5 separate regions of the Homo sapiens genome follow, and all the other regions are linked to region 5. The links are contacts of gene promoters, found by promoter capture Hi-C in blood cells and fetal thymus (Javierre and others, 2016). All regions are on one chromosome and are shown on one strand. The core of a region is centred on a gene start or on the middle of the fragment in contact, and the rest is flanking DNA. Distances in the headings are between cores, read along the strand shown. Region 1 overlaps MS4A3 (membrane spanning 4-domains A3). Region 2 has its middle 37 kb from the start of MS4A2. Region 3 has its middle 18 kb from the start of LINC02705. Region 4 overlaps MS4A4E (membrane spanning 4-domains A4E). Region 5 holds the start of STX3 (syntaxin 3).

Evidence for each region. The method cuts DNA at HindIII sites, captures the fragments that hold promoters and counts their contacts. A CHiCAGO score of 5 or more calls a contact.
Region 1: a fragment that was not itself captured here is called in contact with the fragment with the promoter of STX3 in region 5 in 1 of 17 cell types (neutrophils); the score reaches 5.2 in neutrophils.
Region 2: a fragment that was not itself captured here is called in contact with the fragment with the promoter of STX3 in region 5 in 3 of 17 cell types (M2 macrophages, M0 macrophages and M1 macrophages); the score reaches 7.8 in M2 macrophages.
Region 3: a contact is called between a fragment that was not itself captured here and the fragment with the promoter of STX3 in region 5, in 1 of 17 cell types (M2 macrophages). The highest score is 5.1, in M2 macrophages.
Region 4: a contact is called between a fragment that was not itself captured here and the fragment with the promoter of STX3 in region 5, in 1 of 17 cell types (erythroblasts). The highest score is 5.7, in erythroblasts.

Annotation. Positions count from the first base shown.
Region 1 is chr11:60,059,400-60,062,099 of GRCh38, forward strand. MS4A3 (membrane spanning 4-domains A3) reads left to right here. Exons shown (of 7, transcript NM_006138.5): 2 at 1,747-1,917. The coding sequence starts at 1,762. Among named protein-coding and RNA genes, the nearest start is that of MS4A3, 4.1 kb to the left of the region's middle. The HindIII fragment of the contact is 2,621 bases long and covers 4-2,624 here.
Region 2 is chr11:60,124,341-60,127,040 of GRCh38, forward strand. No RefSeq gene overlaps it. Among named protein-coding and RNA genes, the nearest start is that of MS4A2, 37 kb to the left of the region's middle. The HindIII fragment of the contact is 1,665 bases long and covers 504-2,168 here.
Region 3 is chr11:60,145,336-60,148,035 of GRCh38, forward strand. No RefSeq gene overlaps it. Among named protein-coding and RNA genes, the nearest start is that of LINC02705, 18 kb to the right of the region's middle. The HindIII fragment of the contact is 1,328 bases long and covers 593-1,920 here.
Region 4 is chr11:60,225,476-60,228,175 of GRCh38, forward strand. All of the region lies in intron 3 of MS4A4E (membrane spanning 4-domains A4E), which reads right to left. Among named protein-coding and RNA genes, the nearest start is that of MS4A4E, 16 kb to the right of the region's middle. The HindIII fragment of the contact is 243 bases long and covers 1,229-1,471 here.
Region 5 is chr11:59,753,967-59,756,666 of GRCh38, forward strand. It overlaps STX3 (syntaxin 3), which reads left to right and starts at 1,410. Exons shown (of 11, transcript NM_004177.5): 1 at 1,410-1,669. The coding sequence starts at 1,640. RefSeq lists enhancers at 1-340, 30-324, 90-384, 321-480 and a silencer at 1,351-1,610. The HindIII fragment of the contact is 11,536 bases long and covers 1-2,700 here.

The DNA of each region.
Region 1 (2,700 bases), core at 64-2,563, 310 kb after region 5:
AAAAGCTTTTATTTTAGGTTTACGGGTACATGTACAGGTTCGTTATATAGGTAAATTCGTGCCACAGGGGTGTGTTGTGCAGATTGTCACCCAGGTACTAAGCCTAGTACTCAATAGTTATTTTTCCCGATCTCCTCCCTCCTCTCTCTGATAATCTCCAGTTGTTTTGTTCCCCTCTATGTGTCCATTTGTTCTTAGCATTTAGCTCCCACTTATAAGTGAGAATATGTGGTATTTGGTTTTCTGTTCCTGTATTAGCTTTCTAAGGATAATGGCTTCTACTTCATCCATGTTCCTGCAAAAGACATGATCTCATTCCTTTTTATGGCTGCATAGTATTCCACAGTGTGTATGTACCACATTTTCTTCATCCAGTCTACAAATGATGGACATTTAGGTTGATTCTATGTCTTTGCTATTGTGAATAGTGCTGCAATGAACATTCACGTGCATGTGTTTTATGGTAGAATGATTTATATTAAGATCTTATTCTTAACCCAATCGATAGTTATGGCAGAATACAGCATCATTTTATGTGTTTGTTTATGGTTCATCTCATGCCATCTCCCTCATCAGTTATAAAAGCATATAAGCATTTTACAACTATTTTGTGTAGGAGGGTACTATGAATTAGGAAGTTATCTTGCCCAACATTCAGAAGTCCAATGTAAGCATTCTGTGTGTACTTTAGTGATACATATTTTTCAGCTGTAATGATTGAGGTGGTTGTTTTGTGACCCTTATATATATACAAACTTGAAGTCCTTTTTGTTAGAAGGCAGAGTATAAGTTAAAAGCTGATACCACCTGTTCACAGGTTGAGAATTCCGTACATTATCAAAGTCAACTCTCGCAATGTTAATATAAAATTAAAATTATTCCCATTTTTACAGAAGTGAAAACTGAGGTTCCCACTACAAGGTCATGCAACTAGTAAGTGATGAAATCTGGATTTGAATTGGAATCTTCCATAGTGCTTAAACTCTGAAAACTGAGGTTCCCATTACTAGGTCATGCAACTAGTAAATGATGAAATCTGGATTTGAATTTGGATCTTCCATAGTGCTTAAACTCTACCATGCTATGTTGGTACTCAGAAAGACGTCTTCTATATAGTACTATATAATGTGGTGATTTGAAAAATATTGGACCTTAGAGTAGAATGTTTTTAGTAAAATCTGAAATGATTTATAAGCCATATGAGTTTGGGTAAGTTTCTCGGTCTCTCTATACCTCAATTTTTTTCATCTGTGAAACGGGAATAATAATAATATTATAACAGGATTAAGTATATTAATACATTCACAGCATCCAGACAGTGCTTGGCATATAGTAATAAGTACTAAATAAATGACACCTACTATTATTACTGGAATGTGACTAAAGCCATTATTCTTATAAAGAGACCACTGCTCAGAGAAACCATATGTCTGGTTGCCCTTGACTGACTTGAAGAAAGGCAGGGACTATATATCAGTGCATGCAAAATGAGAAAGAAATTGCTCTTTACCATTCCAAAGTTAAGTGAAGCACCAAGGCCTACTACAATGACCCGATGATGTCTACTACTCCAAGGCAAGACAGAATTGAATATTGTACAAACTCTGTTACTCTGCCCTGGTGTCCCATTTGTGGAGAGTCATTGTAATGTATGGACAGAATTGAACCCTTCTGTAACACTCAAAATTTTAGTAGCTAGTGGAAAAAGGGAAAGCATGAAGGCTTTGGATTTCTTTTCTATCACAGCCATAAACAACCCCAATGGCCTCCCACGAAGTTGATAATGCAGAGCTGGGGTCAGCCTCTGCCCATGGTACCCCAGGCAGTGAGGCGGGACCAGAAGAGCTGAATACTTCTGTCTACCAGCCCATAGATGGATCACCAGATTATCAGAAAGCAAAATTACAAGTTCTTGGGGTAAGTCAGCCTTAGTTTAAACACTGATTTAAGAGGGAAGAAAATAAATACAGTTGACCTGTGAATAACGTGCGTTTGAACTGTGAGGATTCCCTTACATGTGGATTTCTTCCACCTCTGTTTGCCATCCCGAGACAGCAAGAACAACCCCTGCTCTCCCTCTTCTTCCTCAGTCTATTCAACGTGAAGAGGATGAGGATGAAGACCTTTATGATAATCTACTTCCACTTAATGAATAGTAAATACATTTTCTCTTTCTTATGATTTCCTTAACGTTTTTAGTTTCTCTAGCTTATTGTATATAATATGTCACATACAAAATATGTGATAATCGACTGTTTATATTAATAGTAAGACTTCTGGTCAACAGTAGGCTATTAGTAGTTAAGTTTTTGGGAAGTCATAAGTTTTACGTGGATTTACCACCATGAAAGGGTGGGCATTCCAAACCCCAATGTTGTTCAAGAGCCAACTGTATCATGTAGAAAACCTTGCTTATGCTGAGAAGGAGGAAATTCTGAGTTATTTATCACTGACTTAATAATGATTGGAGAAAAGACAGGGACTTCTTATAGATCTGGGGAGCAGAAATGCAAAGGCATTTTCTCATGGTAGAAAACATCAAACCTTGGAGAACAGATTCCAAGACCCTTCATTTTTTGTTTTGTGCCTTTTGACCAGCCATTTGAGGAGGCTGAGCTCTATGAAGCTTATATTCTATATTTTAAATTTAAAAATTGGGTTGAGAGAAGGGTTAAAAATTGGGTTGAGAGAAAGGCTGAG
Region 2 (2,700 bases), core at 86-2,585, 370 kb after region 5:
GTCTGTTCAGAGAGCCAGCAAACAGAAGTAGCCCTGAAAAGCTGTCTTTTGAGGGAGGGGATCTGCAACTGCAGAGAAAATCTACATTAATGCAGCCAGGTTTTATTTGAGGCCAGCCCTTGTGCAAATCCAGAAAAGATTAACTGATAGATAGGCTGATATCTTTAAAGGTCTGAAAAAAAGATTTACTACCTGTTTTCTCTGAGGGCTACTACCTGTGAAGTTTCATCTACATAACAAGACCAACTTTGCTAGTCAGGCCTCCTCTTTTTCCTCTTTTCTCCCATAACCTGTGTTACCACCATAACCTGCTTTGTCATGTATGTATACTGGGCAGTGACATTTTGAAAATTATCTGGGCAGTGAACTTAATTCAAATTAATTGGGACAACAATTTAGATTTCAAGAAAAATTAAGTTGGAAATTATAGGAGATCGGTCAGGGTGGCGGGAAAAATTATAGAAAGAAGCAAATCTTCTTGGAAGGCCAGGAGGTTTTGCAAAAGCTTGGGGAAAGGATATAGCTGAAGGCAGCTGAATTCTCTCGGAGTAGATAACAAGGAAGCACAATGGAATTGATATAGATAAGTTAGTTTACTTAGGCCTTGGAACCTGGCCTTTAATTATCTGCGTGCAGGACTGCTCTCCCCAGGGGTGGGGAGGGGGGCCCAACCGTGTTAATTACTCAAGGCCTTTGTGATTAAATCTGTACTGAATAAATGCCCCCAAAGCTAGCTTGTCGAGGCTGCGGCTGCTGACTCTTTATGGCACCCTCCTCAGGGTCTTTGAGCAGCCCAGTCCCCTAGCCATGCAGCCAGGCAAGAAACCTGTGTCTGGCATACTCCATTCATCCGTCGCTCAGTCAGGGTCTGAGGGTCAGACACGGCAGGAAATCACAGGAAACTATTTTTAAGATAGATTGCTGTTTTACATACTTCTTCCAAAATAGTACCAAGTAGAAAGAACAACTCGAACTGTTTTTCCTCTGCTCTCACACCAGAGACACAACATATAGACTTCTGCGACCAAACGTGTGGGGATTTCTCCCCACCAAAAAGGCAAGCAATCATTTCTGGAGTGAACACCAGCTGGCTGTCCTTCAATTCTGTTGAGACATCATCTAAACTGGAGATAATATCAGATTCCATGGTTTGAGGGCTCAGTCTCACAAGACTTTTTCCCATTTCCAATGCCAATCAGAAGCCCTGGGTTATTTTGCCTGTACTTCTGACTGACCCACTATAAATCAGGGATCCCATGCCCCCAGTCTTGGACTTAACTAATTTGCTGGAGCACCTCACAGATCTCAGGGAAACATGTTTATCAGTGTATTATAAAGGAAATAATAAAGGATACTGTTGACCTAAACAAAGAAACCAAGACAAAATTAATATAGGTAGAGAGTTTATTTTGACTAAGGTTGAGGACTGAAGCCCAGCAAACACTGGGAAGTGCTCCTGAGATCAAAGAAAAGGCTCAAGTTTTTGAAGAAAAAAGGTAGAATTAGGGGAGATGATTACAAAAGTTCTCTTTTCAGAAATTTGTGTTGGTTTACAGAGATAACTTGATTCATGATTGGCTATAAGGTTCGACTTATGCTGCCAGCATATGGCATCATTATGTTAATTGAGTCTAGAGTCCTTATAGCAGGTGGCTTAGAAATGATTACTTAGCTCAAGGAGGAGAGGGTGGGACATGACTGTAATCTAATTTCAATGTCTCTCTGGGCCTGATAATTTAAAAGGGAGATTGCATTTCACAATAAAAAGTTTAGTTTCTTTTGCAATACAAACAAAGAACCAGGTGAAGAGGTATATAGGGCAAGGTCCAGAAGGGTCCCAAGCACAGGAGCTTCTGTCCTCATGGAATGTGCTAAACTTCCTGCACATCAATGAGTTCTTGTTCATCTTCTTGTAAGCCTATGTATTACCTGGAAACCCTCCAAAACCTGTCCTTTTGGGTTTTATGAAGGCTTTATTATATAGGCATGACTAATTGAACCATTGGTCATTAGTGATTAACTGAATTTTCAGCCCCTCTTCCCCTTCCTGGAAGTTGAGGGTTGAGACAAAAAAATCCAACCCTCTGGGCACAATGAATCATTCCCCTGGGAATCAGCCCTCCAACCAGTTGTTTCTAGGGCTTTCTAAAAATTGTCTTATTAACATAAGCTTAGGAGTATTTTATTTTATGTATTTATTTTTTCTTTTTAAAAAACTTTTTATTAAAAAAAGTTTAAACCTTTAGAAAAGTTACAAAAATTGTAAAATGAACTCTCATATGCCTTTACCTAGATTCATCAACTTTTTCTTTTTCTTTCACAATTTTTTTTATTATTATACTTTAAGTTCTGGGGTACATGTGCACAACATGCAGGTTTGTTACATATGTATACATGTGCCATGTTGGTGTGCTGCACCCGTTAACTTGTTTATTTACATTGGGTATATCTCTAGCTTAGGAGTATTTTAAAGCACTTGTTGTAAATAACAAAAGACTGTCTTTCAACTTTATCTTTTAGGAGTGACTTCAGGAACCAAGGATAATCAAATACTTTAACAAAAGATATTCTTACTGCTTTAGTACTTGGGGCATGAGAAGTCTTATAGGAATCTTCCTAGTTGAAAACTAGGAGTCACGGATGGACAAAAACAAATTATATCTATCGTAACATCATAGATACTTATAAACATAAAAAGAA
Region 3 (2,700 bases), core at 7-2,506, 390 kb after region 5:
GAATGAGCAGAGATGAAAACCATATTATAAGCAGATCTTGCTGTATTTCTTGGGGAGCAAATCTCAATTCCTGCCTAAGAGAATCAAATAAAGTCTATGAATAGGTAACTCCAGGATTACTAATTATTTCTTTGTCCAACTAGATGTTTTTATTCTTTTTAATCCTCCTAATTGATCATGGTATTTTGACTGTGAGTGTGGGAAAGTACAGACAACATGATTTCCCAAATAACAAGAAAGTGGTTCCAGAATTGTAGGAAAAATAATGTTAAATCATTAAAAATTTCCTGAGATTGTGCTAAGTATAACAAATGTCTGAGACTCTGGATTTTCTACCTCGATGAGAAAATAAGTGCATTTCCTTTTTGGGGAGAGAGTTGAACATTTGGGTGGCCAGAGAAAAGACTGTGTTAGGGCCAGAGAATGTGGATTGTCTAGCAATTTTTATTCTGATCTTGCTTCCTTGAATAGAGCTCCTGGTTTTAACCTAGACATACAACTGCTCAGTCAATAGCTAGATTTCGTCACCACTCATAACTGTGTGTGGTTATATGACAAAGATCTGTCCATATGATGCAGACATAAAGGAAAAAGCTTTAGTTACAACTTTCATACCTTAAAAGAAGCCACACAAGGAAGAAAGCAAAGCTATACTCCCGGGTACGGACTACCTACTCCTGAGCTGTTGCAGAACAGGAAAATCAAATGACAATTTCTTTAAATCACTTTGTATATAGTCCTAGTTCACAGCATGTTAAATGTACTGTATCACAGTAGTATAATTTATCTCTTTCTTTTTGTCACCCAAGGTGAAGTGCACTGTTCAATCAACACTTACTGTAATCTCAGTCTCCTGGGCTCAAACAGTTCTACCACCTCAGTCTCCCAAGTAGCTAGTACTACAGGCATGTGCCACACATCCGGCCAATGTTTTATTTTCTGTAGAGATGGGGTCTCACTCTGTTGCCCAGCTTTGTCTTGAACTCCTGGACTCAAGTAATCCTCTCACCTCAGCTTCCCAAAGTACTAAGATTACAGGCATGAACCACTACGCCAGGGCCAATTTATTTCTTCATTGGGCAATTGACTTTATATACTTTGAGTGTTTTGTTTTGTTTTGTTTTTTGAGACACAATTTCCTTCTGTCACCCAGGTTGGAGTGCAGTGGTATAATCTCAGCTCACTGCAAACTCCGCCTCCCAGGTTCAAGTGACTCTTGTGCCTCAGCCTCCTGAGCAGCTGCGATTACAGACGTGCACCGCCACGCCCAACTAATTTTTGTATTTATAGTAGAGATGGGGTTTCTCCATGTTGGTCAAGCTGGTCTCAAACTCCTGGCCTCATGTGATCTACCTGCCTCCGCCTCCCAAAGTGCTAGGATTACAGGTGTGAGCTACTGCGCCCAGCCTACTTTGAGTTTTTTTGAAGTGAATGGCCTACTTTCATATCCTTACCATGTGCACAGTGTATCAAACAAATAAGTGTTCAATAGATATTAAATCAACTAATGAATCAATTAACAAATAATATTGAATTACTTGGTGTTACCGTTGAGAGTTTCTGAGTATCCTAGGTGTTTATAAATGTAGGGCAAATATGACCAAAATACTGTTTGAGGAGTGGTCCTCAAAAACTATACACGAACAACAGCTGTGCCTTTCTTCCTCTTAACAAATATTTGAAAAATTATATGCAAGATTACTAAATAAAATAATCAATTGCATCCTCATTCTCTCAACTGTTACTCACCCAACTGATTTTACTGCCATCTGCAGTATAGGTGAGTGTGCAGAGAGCAAAAGTAATTGAAAGTTGCAAGCAGTTTAGCATCATCAGTACAATCACAAGGCCCCGTTAAAGAGAACAGAATTCCGTTGGCTGGGATTCCACCTCATGGTCGTATCAAGACTTGTATCCTAAAGCTTCATCTCAGGCCTTTGGAGTCCCCTCCACTTTGCATTAAACAAAATGATGACACGAGTTTGAATCTCAATTCAAAAATATATGTTCTGCTTTTGAAGAAGAAGTGGATTTCAAAAAAATAAAACAAAACACCAACACAAAACAAAACAAAGCAAACAATAACAACAAAAAGCCAGCGTTACTTTGAATTTTAACGCAACAGTGCCTGTATTAAAAAATAGTCTCGGTAACTTTCCAGTATTCCCAACGATCATTTTGCTGAGGGCTTTCAGAGGTTGGAGGGTGGGAGCAGGGAGAGGATCAGGAAAAATAACTAATGGGTACTAGGCTTAATACCTGGGTGATGAAATAGTCTGTACAGCACGTTCCAATGCCACAAGTTTATCTATATAAGAAACCTGCACTTGTACCCATGAACTTAAAATAAAAGTTAAAGAAAAAGGCCCGAAGACAGTCCAATGGATAAGGGTCTAGGGAGAAAGTTCAAAAGTTCCTGATTAATAAACACTTTCATGTGCAAAAAAAAAAAATAGGATCTCTTCTCAGACGTCAGAAAAAAATGCAGTATCTGCACATTTTTTCAACGGATAGGGAATTCATGGAGAAATGGTAATGGACCCAGATCTCCCTACCGAATCTAGTCTCCTAAATAAAACTAAGAAGTCTCCAAAAGTTAGACGTTTCTGGAAATAAATGATTCATCTGACAGATGTGAAAGTATCTAGAGTCAAGCCAATACTGATTCTCATAGGTAAAGCATGTTAGTTCTTTTCGTTT
Region 4 (2,700 bases), core at 100-2,599, 470 kb after region 5:
TATACAAGGGAAGAAAAAAAGAAGAGCAAATCTGATGTTTTCTTGACGTCTGGGCCTGAGGACATGAACATGAGTAAACAGCGTTCTTAAAATAGGAGCTGGAGTACAATTATCTCATGGCATTATAAATGGGTCAAAAAATTAAAACAACTTATCAAAATTTATGGGATGTAGTGAAAGCAGTGCTTAGAAAAAATTTATAACATTGAATGAATATATTAGAAAATAATGATCAAAATCAATCACCTGAGAGTCTACCTTAAGAAACTGGAAAAAGAAAAGCAAATTAAACTCCAAGTAAGCGGAAGAAAAAAAAGTAATAGAAATTAGAGCAGAAATCATAAAATTAAAAACAGAAAATTAATAGACAAACTCAATGAAATCCAATGCTTTTTTTTAAAAAAAAGAAAAATACATAAATAAAATCAATAAGCCTTTAGCCAGTCTAAGAGAAAGAGAGAGAGGACACAGATTACTCATAAGTGAAAGGGGGAATATCACTACAGTTCCCATAGTAATTAAAAGGATAATAAAATAACTCTACGAACAATTCTGTGCCCACAATTTGATAACCTTGAGCCAATGAATTGCTCCTTAAAGACAATTTGTCAAAATTCACACAAGAAGAAATAGGCACTCTGAATAAGCCTATAATTATTAAATAAATAAAATAAATAATTAATTAATTTTCAAAACAGAAAGCACCAGGCCTGGAAAGGTTTGGAATTCTACCAAACACTTGAAAATGAAATTATACCAATTCTTTACAGAAAACAGAAAAAGAGGAAATACTCCCTAACTCATTCTATGGAGCTAGCACTATTATCTACCAAAAAAAAAAGTCAAAAACATTACAAGAAAAGAAAACTGCAGACCAACATCTCTGGTGAACAAAGATGCAAAAATTCCCAACAAAACATGTGCAAACTAAATCTAATAGTGTATCAAAAGAATTATATACCATAACCATATGGGATTTATCCCAGATATGCAAGGCTGACTAGACATTCAAAAATCAATGAATGTAACTAATGACATCAACAGGCTAAAAGGAAGAAAAATCACATGATTATATCAACAGATGCAGGAAAAATATTGAGCAAAATCCAATGCCTGTTTATTATAAAAACTTTTGAAAAACTATTAATAGAGGATAACTTGTTTAGGTTGATAAAGAATATTTATTAATAAAACTACAGCTAACTTCATACTTAATGGAGAAATTCAAAGCTTTCTCACTAAGATCAGGACCAAGGCAGGGATAAGCCTGTCACTACTCCTTTTACCATTTACTGGAAGTCATAGCTGAAATGGTAAGACAAGAAAAGGAAATAAAGGTATACAATTGGTAAGGAAAAAAATAAAACTGCTTTTATTCACAGATGACGTGATTGTCTGTGTAGAATATCTGAAAGAATCAACCAAAAACTCCTGGAATTAACAAATGATTATATTAAGGTTGTAGGATACAAGCTTAATACACAAGAGTCAATTACTTTCTTATGTACTTATAGTAAATAAGTGAAATTTGAAATTAAAAATGCAATACTATTTAAATTAGCAACCCTAAAAATTAAATATTTAGGTATTGGTATTTGGTGTTTGTTAGGCATAAATCTAACAAACTATGTACAAAATCTATAAGAGAAACTTAAAAAAAAATAAGTCGAATAACTAAATAAATGGAGAGATATTCCATGTCCATGGATAGGAAGACTCAACATTGTCAAGACATCAGTTCTTCCCAATTTAATCTGTAGATTTAATGCAATCTCCCTCAAAATATTAGCAAATGGCCGGGCGTGGTGGCTCACCCCTGTAATCCCAGCACTTTGGGAGGCCGAAGCGGGCGGATCACGAGGTCAGGAGATTGAGACCATCCTGGCTAACATGGTGAAACCCCATCTCTACTAAAAATACAAAAAGTTAGCCAGGCATAGTGGCAGGCGCCTGTAGTCCCAGCTACTCCAGAGGCTGAGGCAGGAGAATGGTGTGAACCCGGGAGGCAGAGCTTGCAGTGAGCTGAGATTGGGCCACTGCACTCCAGCCTGGGTGACAGCGCCAGACTCCATCTCAAAATATATATATATATATTAGCAAATTATTTGTGTATATTGATAAACTGACTCTAAAGTTTATAGGGAAAGGCAAAAGACTTAGAATAACAAAAACAATCTTGAAGAAGAAGGAGTTTTAGGAGTAACACTACCCATCTTTAGGACAAACTATAAAGTGATAGTAATCAGGACTGTGTGATATTGGCAAAGAAATAGACAAATAGATCAAGGGAATAGAATAGAAAGCCTAGAAATAGACACAGAAGTATAGTCAAGTGATCTTTGATAAAGAACTAAGATAATACAATTAGAAGAATAGTCTTTCCAAAAAAAAAATACTACTTAAAAAACTGGACCTCCATAGGCAAAAATTGAACTTAGACACATACCTTGTATCCTTCACAAAAATTAACTCAAAATAAATCACAGACCCAAATGTTGAACTCAAAACTCTGAAACTCTTAACAGATGACATAGGCCAAAATCTAGATGACCTTGGTTTTGGTGATGAGTTTGTCAATACAATACCAAAGGCACAACCCATGAAATACCGAATTAATCATCTTAATTTTATTAAAATTAAAAAATTCTGCTCTGCAGAAGACACTGTCAGAAGAAAAGATAAACCACAGACTGACAGAAG
Region 5 (2,700 bases), core at 160-2,659:
CGCGCCACTGCACTCAACTTGCGCAACAGAATGAGACTCTGTCTAAAAAACAAACAAACAAACAAACAAACAAACAAACAACCCCCAAACTCCCCAAAAATGTGTTAGGGGAAGGAGGTGGGACAGTGTGTATTTCTGATCTACTCGCCTTTCCTAGTATGACCACCAGGGGGCGCGGAAGCCCTCCTGGTACTAAGGCGGGGACAACCTGCCCAGCGAGCACAGCGGGCAGAAGGAAGTGTGCCGGACGCGAGAGAGAACTACGGCCGAGACCCGCGGGGCCGGCTCAAAGCCCGACCTCTGCCATACGCACCGTATCTTTATGGGAGCCGATGAGGTCAGCAGGGAGCACGCGTTCAGATGGCAGAAGAGGGCAAAGTACTGCTAGAATTACAAAGATATTTACAGCTTTTTAACCTGAAAGCACAGAGCAGATCCTATTCTTCAGAATTAAATCTTCGGCTCGCCAGTCCCGTTTATGGATCTCCACTCTGATGAATGTGCCATTTGTTCCCAAGAAGACAAATAGGGTAGGGAGAAGAGGGAGAGGCGGGGAGAAGACTCGAGATAAAGGGACGATCTGCTTTTCGGAAGCAGAAGCCGCCTGGGAACCACCTGCACACCAAGCAGGCTGCGAGGACGGGGAGCGCTCCAGTGCAAAGTTCTGTATTTTAAAGCCCCTCCTCGCTCACAGGCTTCACAGCGAACTACGAAGTGGGTACCATCTCTGATTTACAGACACGGGAACGGGGTCCTCTTGAGAAACGATGCTTTCCCAAACGTCTGCAAATTGTGAGTGCCAAGTGTCTCCACTGGCACTAACAACATCGAGCTGCTTACGTTTCTCGGAGCGGTCCCGATTTCCAACAAGCAAAAGATCCAAATTCTCTGACCACCCTGACCGTCCTGTATCTCCAGATCTCCAGGTCTTTCCTCTGGACACCTCCTCCATCCCCCCACTTTCACTGCCAGCAGCCCTGAGGCTGCGCGGGATCCCGCTACTCGGAATGCCTTCCTCCTGGCGGGATATTTTTAGAACACTCGACTGCCACCCAATGTAGCCCACATCACATTGTCTTATTTGTTTTCGGGAGCTTGTCCCCGCCTAGCAAGGAGTCGGCTAAGAACTGGATCCTAGCGAGGAGCCCGGCACAGACAGCGAATGACCGCAGCCAGACAGTCGCTCTTGCTCTTCCTCGGCCCTGCGGCAGGATCCGCCGGTGCAGGGGCCTCTCCCCGGACTCCACGCGTGTCTGGAGGGCTCTCGGGTTAGGGAAGGGGGCTTTGGAGACGCCCCGGGCGGCCGGGCGGTGGCGGGACGCGGGCCCTTTAAGAAGGAGCGAGGGGCGCGGCCAGGTAGGGGCGGGTCCAGGGCGGATCAGCGCTGCGCCGGCGCCGGCCCGGGAGCCGGATTTGGAGCGCGAGGCGCCGGTGGGGGCGGAGGGGGCTGCGCGGCGGAGGCTCCCGTGGCCTCGGACGCTCCTCCTAGCTAGCGGCCGCCGCCCGCCGCCGCCTGCGCCTCCAGCTCCTTCGCCCCGGCGGGCCCGGCCGCCGCTTCCGGCAGCTCACCTGGGAAGCGCTCACCTGGGACGCGCTCACCTGGGACGCGCTACCTGCCTCCGGGCGCCTGGGCTTCAGGATGAAGGACCGTCTGGAGCAGCTGAAGGCCGTGAGTTTCGCCGCAGGCGGGGTGCTGCCAGGAGGGGTGCTGCATGGGAGAGGGGCTTCCCTTTGCTCCCCAAGTCGAGGCTGGAGGGGGGCCCGAGCCGGAGGCTTGCCCTCCCCAAGCCCCCACCGCTTCCCGCGCCGGTTCCGCACCCTCCCCTCCCCTCCCCTGCGGGGTCATGTGCCCGGTGATTCATCGCTAGGCAATGATTTTCCTGAACGCCTCTAACTCTCCCACCCCGCAAGCTGGACAGTGTCTGTCCAGAGCTGGTTCCCGAAGCGGGTGCTTGGGCCCGGGAGGTCAGGGGTCCCTTCACCACCTGCCCACTGCTGCCTGGCACTATGCCCAGGACCAGCCTCCTTCTCCCTTTCCTGTTTCTCTCCTGAGGTGCTACAGGCCTGGCTGCCCCTTCCCCCAGGGAGCAGCTCAGAGCTCTCTGGTGACCTCTGGAGCTGTGAGCCGGTCACATGCTGGGATGGGTCAGCTCCTCTCCAACCGGTGGTCTGTAATTGTTATCCCCGGGTGTCATTGTCCCCCCCTCCCCCGCCGTATCTTTTGGAACAGCTGTGGTTAGGTCAAAGGATCTGAAGGTAGACTACCTCCAGCCTTGGCTGCGCAAAAGCTGTAAAGCCTTAGGTTACTTACTGTGAGTCTCTGTTTCCTTATCTATCAAATGGGAATGATCATACCCTAGGAATTTGTTGGGAGGATCAGCTGATACAATGGAACTTGATACAGAAAAGGGTTAACGCATAGGGTTTTAAGCCAGATATTCATTGACTCATTCAGTACATAATTATTGAGTGTATTCTATGGGGAGGTCCAGTGCTAAGCCTTGGAGATTCAGTGGCACAGGTTCTACCTTAATAGAATTAAAATCTAGCCCTTGACACTCAAGAGTTTAGTCCATCTACTTTGGAGCTTGTTACAAGTGTAGCAGCTTAGGCCTGAGTCTAGCCCCGCAGAATCAGAATCTAATTATTCATCCATTTCCCCAGGTGATTCATGGGCACATTACAGTTTGGGAAGCACTG